2 separate regions of the Homo sapiens genome follow, and region 2 is linked to region 1. Evidence: promoter capture Hi-C in human tissues and cell types (Jung and others, 2019). All regions are on one chromosome and are shown on one strand. Each heading gives the region's core, a stretch centred on a gene start or on the middle of the fragment in contact. The rest is flanking DNA. Distances are from core to core; before and after follow the strand shown. Region 1 holds the start of TNFRSF19 (TNF receptor superfamily member 19). Region 2 overlaps TNFRSF19 (TNF receptor superfamily member 19).

What was found. The method cuts DNA at HindIII sites, captures the fragments that hold promoters and counts their contacts. A contact is called where the count stands out against the background at its distance.
Region 2: a fragment that was not itself captured here is called in contact with the fragment with the promoter of TNFRSF19 in region 1 in 2 of the 25 tissues and cell types used here (H1 embryonic stem cells and hippocampus).

The regions. Positions count from the first base shown.
Region 1 is chr13:23,566,173-23,572,345 of GRCh38, reverse strand. It overlaps TNFRSF19 (TNF receptor superfamily member 19), which reads right to left and starts at 1,934. Exons shown (of 10, transcript NM_148957.4): 1 at 1,498-1,934. RefSeq lists enhancers at 3,499-4,010, 4,011-4,523. The HindIII fragment of the contact is 2,276 bases long and covers 1,688-3,963 here.
Region 2 is chr13:23,633,868-23,640,460 of GRCh38, reverse strand. The region is part of intron 5 of TNFRSF19 (TNF receptor superfamily member 19); the gene reads right to left. Among named protein-coding and RNA genes, the nearest start is that of TNFRSF19, 67 kb to the right of the region's middle. RefSeq lists an enhancer at 778-1,279. The HindIII fragment of the contact is 4,953 bases long and covers 1-4,252 here.

The sequences.
Region 1 (6,173 bases), core at 685-3,184:
AATTAAAAAAAAATCAAACTAAACCGATATTGCAGGATATTGTGAACATGATTTGTTGTACTCTTAGAAAAAAAAAGCAAATGCCTCTCCTGGCATGACTAAAAACAGCAGTTAAATCTTTAAGATTAAGTTATTAATGACACACTTTAAAAATATAATCAGTTTAGCATGGCTTTAAATAACCTCCACTTAACAACTAGCAAAGTTTTAAAATTAAATAAACAATGCTAATTACCCTTCTAGTATCAAGAGGAAAGTGTAGAAAGTAATTTAATTAATTGGCTGTGAAAAATTAATTACTTATGAAATGAGACTCATTAGACCTTTCCTGTTTCATCAGAATTTCAGACTAAAGGATAACTGGTCTTATCACTTATGGTTTCTTTATGGTTCAGCTAGCATCAAATAGACTTGTGATAATAATTAAATATTTTGCCCAGATAAATTTAGGACTAGAACATTAAAAAAAAAAACATCGCGAACAAAGTAACAGTGTTACTTTTCCATTGTATTTAGTTTTTATATTTCACTGTAAAGATTTTACTGTGTGTGTGTGTGAGCGTGAGTGTGTGTGTATCATGAACTGACAAAAAAATAACAGTTAACTTTCAAATTCGGTACAGCAATATAATTTGGTTTTGTCATGTTGGGCATTAGCTAAAGTGAAAATGTGACTAAGATACTTTATGTAACATAATAACTGTTGATTACTCAGATAGTTTTCATAAACAGTTGGCAAATTTTGACTTAAAACAGCTGTCACTATAAATGTAAAGTAAATGTTAATTTAGGAATATTAACCTTGTGAATGTTTCTGTAAATAAGGCTTATGCTATTTCCAAAGGTTATAGAAAATCACTGGAGTATTTTTAGCCAAACTTAGTGCAACTTTATCCTCACTGTTTTTAAATTCTTCAGTTTTACACATAAAAGTCTTTAATCATACTTGATGGTTTTTCAGTGATTCCCTTGAGTGTACAAACTGCATAAGGAAGTGTATTTGATAGATTTACATCTTGGAAGTGAGAGAATAAATAAACTAAAGAAACAGTATTGCCAGAGATACATTTTACTCTTTTATATAAGAAAACAAAGAAAGCATTTTCAACAAGCAAAGTTGCACTGACTGTTTACTAAATAAGGTAACCTGTAAATACTTAGAGCAATTATAGCTCACAGATCTCAGGGGTTGAAGTACCAGTTGCATGCTAAAGTGAGCGCTGTTCTGTTTTGTCCTGTTTGTACAACTCATTTCCAAGTAAAATTTGTATGACAGACTGCAAACCCTCTTGTACAAACTACTAAAAATTACATCAAGTTCCATAGTTACTCTGATACACACATTCAGCATCATGTAGTATTCAGCTGTATAAATGCTTTCTAAAAAATTAATTAAAACCATTCTTTTCTCAGAACACATGCGAAAAATGCAGTGAAAGCTATAACAAAGCTTAAAACAGAGTACCTGCAACATGCTGAGCTCTTTGCAGTACTTACCCGTTCAGCAACTTAGTTTCTCCTGGCAGCACTTCTGTGCCAAATGCTTCTACCTTCCCAAAAATGTATGTCAGCACAAGCCCAGACGAAACTTCAAATCCAGGAAAATAAAATTAACCATGCAGATCAAAGGCAGACGAGCAGGGAGATGAAATGCCTGTAATCTGATCAGTGAATCAGTTGCTGAACATCAAAGGCAGGGCTGAGTTTATATATATGCATGGATATCAAAGAAAGTTCACTTTCAGCAGGTAGTTACCCTCCCACCTCCTAGTCCACAGACTCTTTTGTTAAACATGGATCACGTTGTTTTCCTCCTCTTTTTTGCAATGAGGCAATGCTGGTAGTTCTCCCATGCTTGGGCTGAGTGGCTGGATCTGTAGCTTTTTTGGTTCCCAAGCTGTGTTGTGGACTGTGTGTTGGAAGCTTTTCCTAGTGCCAGCGGGTTCTGCTTTATCCCTTTCATCTCGCTGAACTGCAGATCCCATGACATCATTCAGCGCCGTGGGACTGGTAGGAGAGCTATAATTCAGCCTGTGGGGGAGTATAGCTCAAGAGAAGCCAGAGTTTGGCTGATTTCTAATCATGTTAGACTATTGTGCCTCACACAGGACAGTTTCTGTTATCTGTCTGCCAGCTGGAAAGGACAGCAACTGCTGCTGGATGCTTCTTGGGTGATAAGATCCCTGATGGATGGACGTGCCAAATGACAGCATTTAATTGCCTCTTCGCTGATAAAAATCACAATTTCCTACAGAGACTGGGTGTCAAATATTCAGCATAGTTAAATAGCACTATGAGACCACTCTAAAAAACACCCAAGGACACTGCCAGATGGACCGATAACATTTTCACATTTTGATTCCAGTTTTCAAAGTGACAAGTCTTTAAGGATTTTAAGGAAACTGCCCTTTCTTTGAAACATACATTATTAGGATCTGATTACCAATCAAACCGGGTTGTGTTAAGTAGTTAAGCAGCAGATAACCAACAATTCATGAATAAACTGCCATCTTCCACTGGCTCACTTAAGACTTTGGGCGGAGACTTAATCTCAATCTTTGCCTTAGTTCGGGACTCTGGAAATTAGATTTTAAAGCAATATCTACTTCTTAGACATATTTCATTAATACTTGTTGAGCATTTTAAAATTCACAAAAGAAGAATTATGTAGAACAAAGCATTTGCCCTGTGATTATTCCAAAGCCATGTTATTTGCCTTTTAGGGCTGTTTCTTCCGAACTCATAGTTTGGACTTTCAACTCACTAAAAAATTACCACCTTAGCCTAATTCTTCGTATTTTAAAATTAAATATATTGCTCATTATTTAAAAATTTTAAGCTATTTTCCTTAACAATGTCAGATTCAATACAATATGATTATTTTATTTTGAGTATTTAGTAAAATAGAAGATAAGAAGAAGTTTCATCTTCCTTGAAATCCAGGATATGGTGCTTTTCTGATTTTCAGACAGTTCTTTCATGGAATGAAGACAATTTTTCTATTTTATAATGGAAACTCACTAACTTTTAGAAAGTAAGTTAAAAATATTTTTGCAAAACTTAGGGGATAGTAGAACTCAGTCTTTTTCAATGTAACTTCCCTCCTTAACTGGTTTTGTCTAATTTTTCCTGACGCGATATTTGAAAACGTTATTTATGAAGTGTTTATTTCCAGATTTCTATGATTCTTGAATAATTTTAATAGCAAAATATTTAGTTTGAACTGTTCATAAGTTCTGTATAACATTTAAATAGTCCTGTTGATTTTTCCATGTTTCTTGTATAATTTTTCTACTTATACATCATTTCTCAAAAATGCACAGGGCTCAAATAGTATTTGAACTGGCAGGTGTGATGCTTAAGGACTTCCTTAAAGCAGACCAGGAAAATTCCTGTGACATCTGGGCTTCACATACGTTTCCTGGGCATCTTGAACCCATGAATACAAAGAAAATATTTACAAAGACAAAATATTTACAAGAAGGCATGTGCCCATTTCTTTTCTGAGGTAGTCCAAACCTACCACCAGCATGGAATCCATATGCCAACAGCCTGCACTCAGGATTAAAGTTTCCCGATACACTGATATATTAAATCAGAGCAACTAGACACTCTGTAAGGCTCATTGGCTAAGCAAGTAGATTTTATGTCTTTATAGATTTCAACACCAGTAGAAATAGGTGAAGGACTGAATTCGGGTTCTTGTGTTCCACTGAAAAACATACAGGAGGCACTTGAAAGCAGGGACTTGAATGAAAACCAATCAAATGATCTTCAATTTATACAAATCTCCCCAAGCAAGCTTTGTAGTTCAAGATACATCCAACAATGCAATACCATCTCCAGTGGAAGAGTTTATTCACCAAGTCACTGGATATTATTTTGAATTGGTCCTCTTGTGGCCAAGAACTCCCCATATGTGAGATGAAAGGGGACTGAGGCTAGGGCCCCATCTGTCGCCTGGACCAGAGTGTGGCTAAAGGTCGGCCTGGCTGCAGGAGTGACCTCTTGACCTGCGGCTCATTTAGCACTGTGCCCAGCCAGCCGAGCCCCCTTCGTTGTGAGGTGTGGCCTGCACCATTGTTGTTTCTGAACAGCACCAGGAAGGGGAGCTACTACAAAGCTTTTCTCTTTCCCCTTCAAGAAGCTTAGATTAGTGTGATTAAATCAGTGTGATACAGTGGTGATAAGAGATCCAGCACTCCACTCGACATCATTGTCCGTTGTCATGACACCAAGTTACAGCATTTGATCAATGGTTCCTGTGCCATGTTGCAGTACACTTGGCTCATCTTAGTCTTTTTGTCAAGCTGCCTTTCAGCGACCTGGTTCTGCAAAGTGGTTGTGGCAGCCATTGGATCCACAGTGGGGAGCTCCAGGCTACACTTTAAAAGAAGTGGTCAGTGTTTGAGATGACGGGCATGCCAGTTACCCTGATCTGATCACTATACCTTATAGGTATAGAAATGTCACTAGGTGCCCAGGGATATGTATAATTATTATTAATCAGTTAAAAAATAAAATAAATGATTGAGAAAACTTCAGTTGTTCATATCCAAGAAGGGAGGGGCTGCCTGAGATTCCTGATGGGGAGTGGGGTCTCATGTCACCCCCAGTCGCCACCATGTGCTATTTTCTTCCCAAAACTTGGAGCGTGGTTCCTTTGCTCCTTTATCTTGACAGGTGGATGCCATGAATTCTCACCATTTTAAGATATAGATCAGGTGATAACACATTTTCCCCATAAAGTTTCATAGTTTTTTGAGTTGTCTGCATGTCTTTTCTAATGCCGTCTTTTCTAACTTTTCTGTTCAGAGGATATATCCTGGATTAGATCAGATAAACACAGATCTATTACATACATTGAGAGGAATAATTTCTGCATTTGTTTCAACTGAACACTTTTTAGAAAATGAAATAGCTCATGGTTATGAAAAGAACACGGATGCTGGAGTCAGAAAGGCCTATGTTCAAATCCCTCTTACTACCTGTACTTGAATAACAGCTTAGGCAGTGTGGACGAAGGCTACCTAGTCCCACTGAGCTTTTTAATCCTAAGCTGCAGGAAGGGGATAACACCTACCTCATTAGTGTTGCCAAAATAACAAACTTATTTCGAAAGCATCAGGCAGAATAAACCCTCAACAGAAGAGCTAAGGTTCCTTTCTTTTCTCTGTAACTATTAAAATGCCAACATTTTAGCTAGGGGATCCAATTCAAACTTCAGTATTCTAAAGGGGCAGGACAGGCTCTCACACAGCTCCTGGGCTGGTTATTCAAAGCCAAGGTAGCCCAGACATCCTCAGGTCCTTCACAATGCTGGGACCACTTGTACATGATCTGGGACCAGTAGCTGCTATCTGGGACTGTGGTCCACATAATCACAGAAAGAAAAAGGCTCAAGCCTGTTATGGGTTGGATTGTATCCCCCTAAATTCCCATGTTGATGTCTTGTCTCCCAGCACCTCAAAACATGAGCTTATCTGGAGATAGGGTCTTTACAGGGGTAATCAAGTTCAAATGTGGTCATTAGGGTGGGCCCCAACCCAGAATGACTGATGTCCCCATAAAAAGGGAGATTTAGATAAAGAGGCAGACACTCATATAGGTAGAACACTGTGTGGACATGAGGATGACCATCTACAAGCCAGGGTAAGAGGCCGGGAACAGACCTGTCCCTCACAGCCTCAGAAGGAACCAACCCTGCTGATACCTTGATCTCTGACTTCCAGCCCCCAGAACTGTGCGAGGACATACTGCTGCTGTTGAAGTCTGTGGTACTTTGTTATCACAGCCTCAAGAAACTAATACAAAGCCACTATCCAACAAACTACAAAGAGGTACAACTCCCATTTTCCTACATATTCTGAAGCCTTACATTCTCCTCATCAGCATCTGCCTCCTACAAAGCACCCCCAGCTCCAGTGGACACCCCCTGCCCTTCTGGACTCCCTCCGACCTCGTGAGCAGAAGACGCCTTCCTTTTCTTAAAGGGCCAGTTCAGGGGTACTGTTCAGTGAAGCTGAGTATGACTGAAAGTCACTAAAGGTAACTGGGATAGAACCCAGTTTCTGGCTACTGTAAATAAAGCTGCCATGAACACTTCATGAACCTGAAAGAGCCAATCCTTCCAAATGGATCCTGAGTGGCTAACTGGGTCTAAATTCAGAATG
Region 2 (6,593 bases), core at 527-3,026, 68 kb before region 1:
ACTCTCACTCAAAGCTGGGTACAGGTTAGTCATCGAGGAAGGCTGTAGTAGCACTTACTTGGCGATAAGCTGGCAGCATGAAGTTACACAGAAATCTGGCAGTTTCTAATGATTCTCATCAACACAGCTAGCTACATTTTCTGACCTGTATTAGCATCCTGTTTGGTTACTAAAATTGATTTTTAAAAGTAAGCTAGAAGTCACCAAGTCTCTACTTGGTGTGTGGAGATACGGGACTGGTTCCCTGTCGAATCAAGACCATTATTTTCCATTGCGAACCTCCTCCAACTACACAAACAGCCTCCCACAGCATGTTTTATAACAGAGCCTCTCAGGTAGCCAAACCCCTTTCTCTTGCAGGTCAGCACCACCCAGAACGTCTCCGCTGCCTGGCTTGACAGCACTACAGTGTCTTAGTCAGGTGTCAATGCTGTCTAAAACTATAAAGTGAGTTGATGGTCCTTACTAACCTGAGTACAGAGTATTGCGCTCATGTCAGCAGAGTTTTGTTTTGTTCCTAAGCCAAAACCCCACAGTATCATCATTCATTCTGACTGCAACAATAAGTCCTTTGTATTTCAATTGCTAGAAAAATAAAGAACAATTTTAGCATATCCTTTCAAATCCAGCCATGTGCAGCGCTTGGAAATGGTCTTTCCAAATCCTCTGGGCTCTCTCCTCCTCTCCCTCCCTCCCACCACTGCCTCAGTTCTCACTGTCGCCCGCTCCCTCCAGGGCCGGGTCAGGGCACGCAGACCACTGCCCTGCTGGCCAAATCTTCCAGGGGGCCTGACTGGTTTGTGCCAGGTGGTACTGGCTGGGGAGCTACCTAGGGAAGAAGCACCAAGCATGAACTCCAAGAGCTGTAATCTTTCATAGTCTGCTCCTAACACTGGTGGGAGACTCCAGGGAAAGGGGAGGACAAATCCCCCTGGCATGTGGCTATAACTGTGCACAGCAGGGCTCCTGAGGGGAGGCAAAGGAAAGGAGCTATGTCATGAATTGGTGTCCCCAAGGACACCTGCTACGGGGGCTATATGAATTTAAATTTTTTTTAAATTATCTTTTGAGATGGAGCCTTGCTCTGTTGCCCAGGCTGGAGTGCAGTGGCATGATCTTGGCTCACTGCAACCTCTGCCTCCCGGGTTCAAATGATTCTCCTGTCTTAACCTCCTGAGTAGCTGGGATTACAGGCCCACACCACTATGTCTAGCTAATTTTTGTATTTTTAGTAGAGATAGGGTTTCATCATGTTGGCAAGGCTGGTCTCGAACTCCTGACCTCAAGTGATCCACCCTTCTCAGCCTCCCAAAGTGCTGGAATTACAGATGTAAGCCACCACACCTGGCCTTAAAATTTCCTTAAGTTTGACTTTGGTTTTTATTTATTAGTATAAAATGTGAATGTTTCTATCAAGAAAATAAAAATTAATTGTTGAGTTGAACTAAACAGCTCTTATTTCTTCTCAATAGGACAAAAATAAATTACTGATGGACAAGATAAAGACATGAAGAGTTTTCCACTCTATGATGTGCATGTGTATTAATTACACAACAGACCAGCAGAAATGTTGGCATGATGCAGCAATGAAACTCAAGGAAAACAGGACTGAAGGGCACCCGGCAGCCCAGGGACAGGAACCCGCAGCGTGATGGGAGGCTGAGGGAGCAAAGGAGTCAAGAGGATGGTTCAGAGGCACGGGGTGAGGGAGAGAAACTAAGGCAGTAAGAGGGATCCTGAAGCAAACCAGGGACCCAGGAACATCAGCAGAAGGGAGGAAGTCAGGGAGGAAGCTGCTACAGGGGCTGACGGCCACCGCAGCTGAGATCTGGTCAGTTCCTCAACCAAACTTGATTTCTGCTCTTTCCATCTTGCTTCCAGATCACTTGGTCTAGAGACCTGCTGCCCACCAGGATGGACTAGGCCAAATATGATCACGCCTGTCTTTGAGTAAAAGAAAAGAAGACCGAAAAAGCAATGACCATGGGGAGGGGCTGGCAAGGCAGGCAGGTGCACCCCAGGCCTCAGCGCCTGGCCCTAACTGCAGGGCTGACTGAAGGCACCCCATTATGCCGGAGCAACTCACTGCTTCAGGATCCTCTTTGGCACTTGCCGGATTGTAAGTACAGCTGTTTTGTATGTTAATTACCATAAATACCATCATTAACATTGAAAACAATTAAAAGCTGCACAATGGCAGCAGATTACCTACAGTGTTTCTCACAAACATGAGAGAGTAAAGGAACCTTCCCTACCCGCAAGGATGTTTTTCTTTTTAATAGTCTACGGACCCATAACGTCTTGCTGTGTTTATCTGACTGATGAAACAATGAAGCTTTTAAACTTCTGCACCGAGAAACAGAAAAGACACCATAAAAGAAACACATTATTATGGCCTTGAACATCTGTGCTGAGGGAGAGCAAGCTCAAAAATAGTGTGCTTCAACTGGCGCTGCCATCTGGGAATCCAACAGAGACCAGAAACTTGGGCCTCCGCCCTCCCAGTTCCACCACGGACTCTCCTTAACCCTTTGAGTGCCAGGCTCCATTTTGGGCTCCGGCCTCCAGCCCCTGTGAAAGAAAGCAGGGAGTGTCCATTTTCCCTTGCATTTGGAGAAGGCCACGTGGAGACAGGCAGGTGTTAGCCTGCGGACCCTGATCCTGTGAGGCTGCCTTCCCTGTCATCAGTGGATAACTCTTATTTACCTCACTGCACTATTTGAAGAAGTAATCTGTGAAATTATTCTCAGATGATGACACTCAAATTATTTCCACCCATTAACTTCCAACTAAGAAAAAAATGTATATCTGTGCACAGTTTGGTATGGTTGTTTGAGTCTAGACTGAAAAGAAAATCTGGATTTAGACAGTGCTTCCTGCTATCCTCTATGCCAGCAGAATTGATACCGGTATTAATTCACTTATAATTTTACATTTGACAGGACTTACGGCAAAGCACAAAACTCCAGGTTAGGTTAGAAAGAGAATGTTTTTCTTGAGACTTGGAACAGGAAGTCGATTCAGGACTCAGCCCCGGCATTACTGCCTCTTTTACAATCACTAGCATCTTCATTTTAAGAAACAGGGATGAAGAAAAGTTAAATAATTTGTCTGAAAATTAAGTGTTAGGACTCAAAATCAAGCCTTCTTCACAGCGAAGCCTACATGAGCTTCCATGAAAAACATCAAGTAGATGGGTTTGCATTAGTCTTGGGATATCAACTGAGATAGTTATGAGAAAATTAGTAATCAGAGAGAGCTTCCCCTGATTTTATTTTTCAGGCCTTCATCTGTGTCCCCCGGGCCTAAAATCATAGAAAACACTCATGATAATGTAAAAGCTTACGGCAGAATATAAAAGCTTAAGTTAACCTCTTTCAAATACGTGTTTCACTTGGGTTTAGGAAAAAAAACAACAACTCTAATTTTCCTTGACTATCTGAAGAGGCAAACAAAACATAGCAAATATTATAATATTATTAACACATAACTAGTAAATACATGATTTATTTAAATTAAATAAATTGAATTAAATAAACTAATAACCAACTCTTGAGAAAGGGGTGAAAAGCCACACTATTTCTCAAAGCACATACATCTACTGTGCCAGCTAAAAATGCTCTGCTGAAACTAGGAGAGTGAGCTCCTGCTTCCTCCCTTGCTCCCCTCAACTCTACTTCCAACAGGAGTCCGAGGGAAGTTAAATGTATCTTCATAACGGCCCAGGAGCCCTACGTGATGCACCTATCGACTCAGTCACCAGCTGTGGCCTCTGCTGTGGGTGTCTCTGCCTCCTCCCCTCTTTCAGGGCCCTGTCCTAGGGTCACCTTAATAAACCTTCCCTCAGCACCTTATTGTAAATAATAGCTCTGCCCTGCAGCATCGGAATCTTAACTCCCTGAGAACTGGGAAGTTGGCCTGTGGTTTTCACCAGGGCAGCCCCAGTGTCCTCATCAGTGATACGGATATCTTAGCATTCAAGATAGCTGTCCCTAAAGGAGAAGACGAGGAGATCATTCACAACCTGGGAGAGATGTGTTTCTGCAGCACTTCATTAATATCTAGACTAGCATTCTGCACCCAAAACAGACTCCCTGACATGTTTCCTGTGTTAAACATTCCAATACCAAGAATTTTAAAAAGCAATTTTTCTCATTTTGAAGAAAACCATGCCTCCTACGACCCCTGGCAATATTTTCAGGAATTATTTTCAATGGCATTTTAGAAAGTTCAATAGTGAAGATTTTTCAGAAAATCATTTAAAGAGAAAATTTCATAACATAACCCGTTGGTCTCTTGACAGAGAATGAAGCAAGGACAGGAAACATTAACACACACATGCACACATTTTACAACAGCAATAGAGCAAAAAGATGCCTAAACCATATCCCCTAGACGTCTCACTAACGGACCCCTCTGAGGCCACTCCAAGAAGACCAATGCTTAAAAATAGTCACTTTCCTTATGGGAGGGTGACAGAAATGTTCTGTATCATGATGGGGGAAATGATTACATAAGTTATACATCCATCAAAACTCACTGAATTTTACATTTAAAATGATGCATCTTCTTGTATATACATTATATTTCAGTAAAGTTCAAAAATTATTTTGAAAGTTAAAACATCCTTTTAAAATTATAATTATCAAGAAAAATGTTTCTTAAATATTTAATTAAGAAAACTGCTGCATGACTTACAATAGATAAAACTCTCATGAATACTTAAAATATTTTCTCTGAGATAATCGAAATAATAAATGAAGCAATTAAAATAATGTTTTAGACCAGGCTCTGTGGCTCACACCTGTAATCCCAGCACTTTGGGAGGCCAAGGCGGGCAGATCACTTGAGGTCAGGATTTCAAGACCAGCGTGGCCAACATAGTGAAACCCCGTCTCTACTAAAAATACACAAATTAGCCGGGCATGGTGGCACACACCTGTAATCCCAGCTACCTGGGAGGCTGAGGCAGAAGAATCGCTTGAACCTGGGAGGCAGAGGTTGTAGTGAGCCGAGATCACACCACTGCACTCCAGCCTGGATGACAGAGTGAGACTCTGTCTCAAAAAATAATGTTTTAAAAACCCAAAGTGGGATATTATCTTCTAAATTAATTAATTCCTGTTTGAAATTTGACTTCAAGCTTCCATTTTTAACTTTCTAATGCCCTTTTCAACCTTTGAGATTCTTTACCCATTTTTTCAAGTAGGATGACTCAATTACATTTTATTTATAGGTTCAGAATTTTTCTTAATTTATAAATTATTTTAAAACTCTCTTAATCCTGTCCCTCGGAGTTCACCTGGAGAGGCAGTATTGAGCTTGGCCTGTCTGTGCTGCCAGGAAGGCCTGGGGTAGGACTCACCTACCCTCCACGTGACCATGTCCTGTGGAATGAGGGCTTTAAGGAAACACACACCATGGACCATTATGTGAAGGGCAGGCTGAGAAATGCAGATGAAATGCCTGGTACCTTTCGGAATGCAAGAAATACTTGCTATTTCACACTATTCTGGAACTTCTTTTTTCCCTTCTCAAAAACGACGGTACTCAAGTAAACCCCCTAGGAAGTGGCTAGACACCCAAGTTTAAAGACAAAACGATCCCAATCCATTGGTTAAGGCCACATCCCCTGGTCTTCCTTAGACCGTGAACCCAAGAGCTGTTTTCCCACACGGTGCAGGCCCTCACATGCCACCTCAAGAGGGTGAATGCTCCCTATACAAAAAGGAGTGATAGAGCCTGAACTTTGAGTATATCCACTACAGGTTTGGCATCAAATGTGAGTCTGCTTTCCTCCATAAGCTCACATTTATTTTAAGCATTTGATGGGGACACACACAAATCACTGATCCATGTGTGTGGCCACCAATGCACTGTTTCACTACGTGTGGACTTAAGTCCACCTTATTTCACTAAGTCCACAGCTTAATGAAACAGTCCTGCTGGATTTTAGATTTTTAAAAATAAACTGTACTTAATCTGAAAAACATTTAATTTAGTGATGCCCTTTAACAAATCACAACCTGTTGATTGTGAGTAAATATTTAAACCAGCTCAATGGTTTTAAATGTCTAACAGAGACTGAAGATAAAAGCCAGAGAAATTCGATTTATTGGTGACTGGGTAATAATCAACTGCTACTGTTCTCAGAAGGCCCCACCAAAGGCTCAGGCACACAGCGACTTTGAAGAGCAGCTCCCAATTCAAGGGGTGCTGTCAACTCACTCAGTCAAGGCATTCAACTTTTCCATTTTTACTGATAACAGACAAAGTCAATGACTTACAAATATTTAGCAACTTTATGGGAGAAAACTGCTAAATTTGAAAGATTTCAATTTGAGAAAAAGGGCATTTCTTGGGAGACAAGAATCAATGTAGGGCACATGTGTTTAAGAAACTTTTTAAAGAATTTTCTGATTTCTGTAACTTTAATGAAATTAGGGCTATGGAAACATATCTGGAGAATAAGTGTTTGAAATAGCTAAATAATTATATAAACCAATTACATTTATGGTGTATTTTTTCTCTAAACAGGCCAAGACATTTAAACTGCTCAGCTATTGTTTCTTGTTTTGTTTTATTTTTTATTT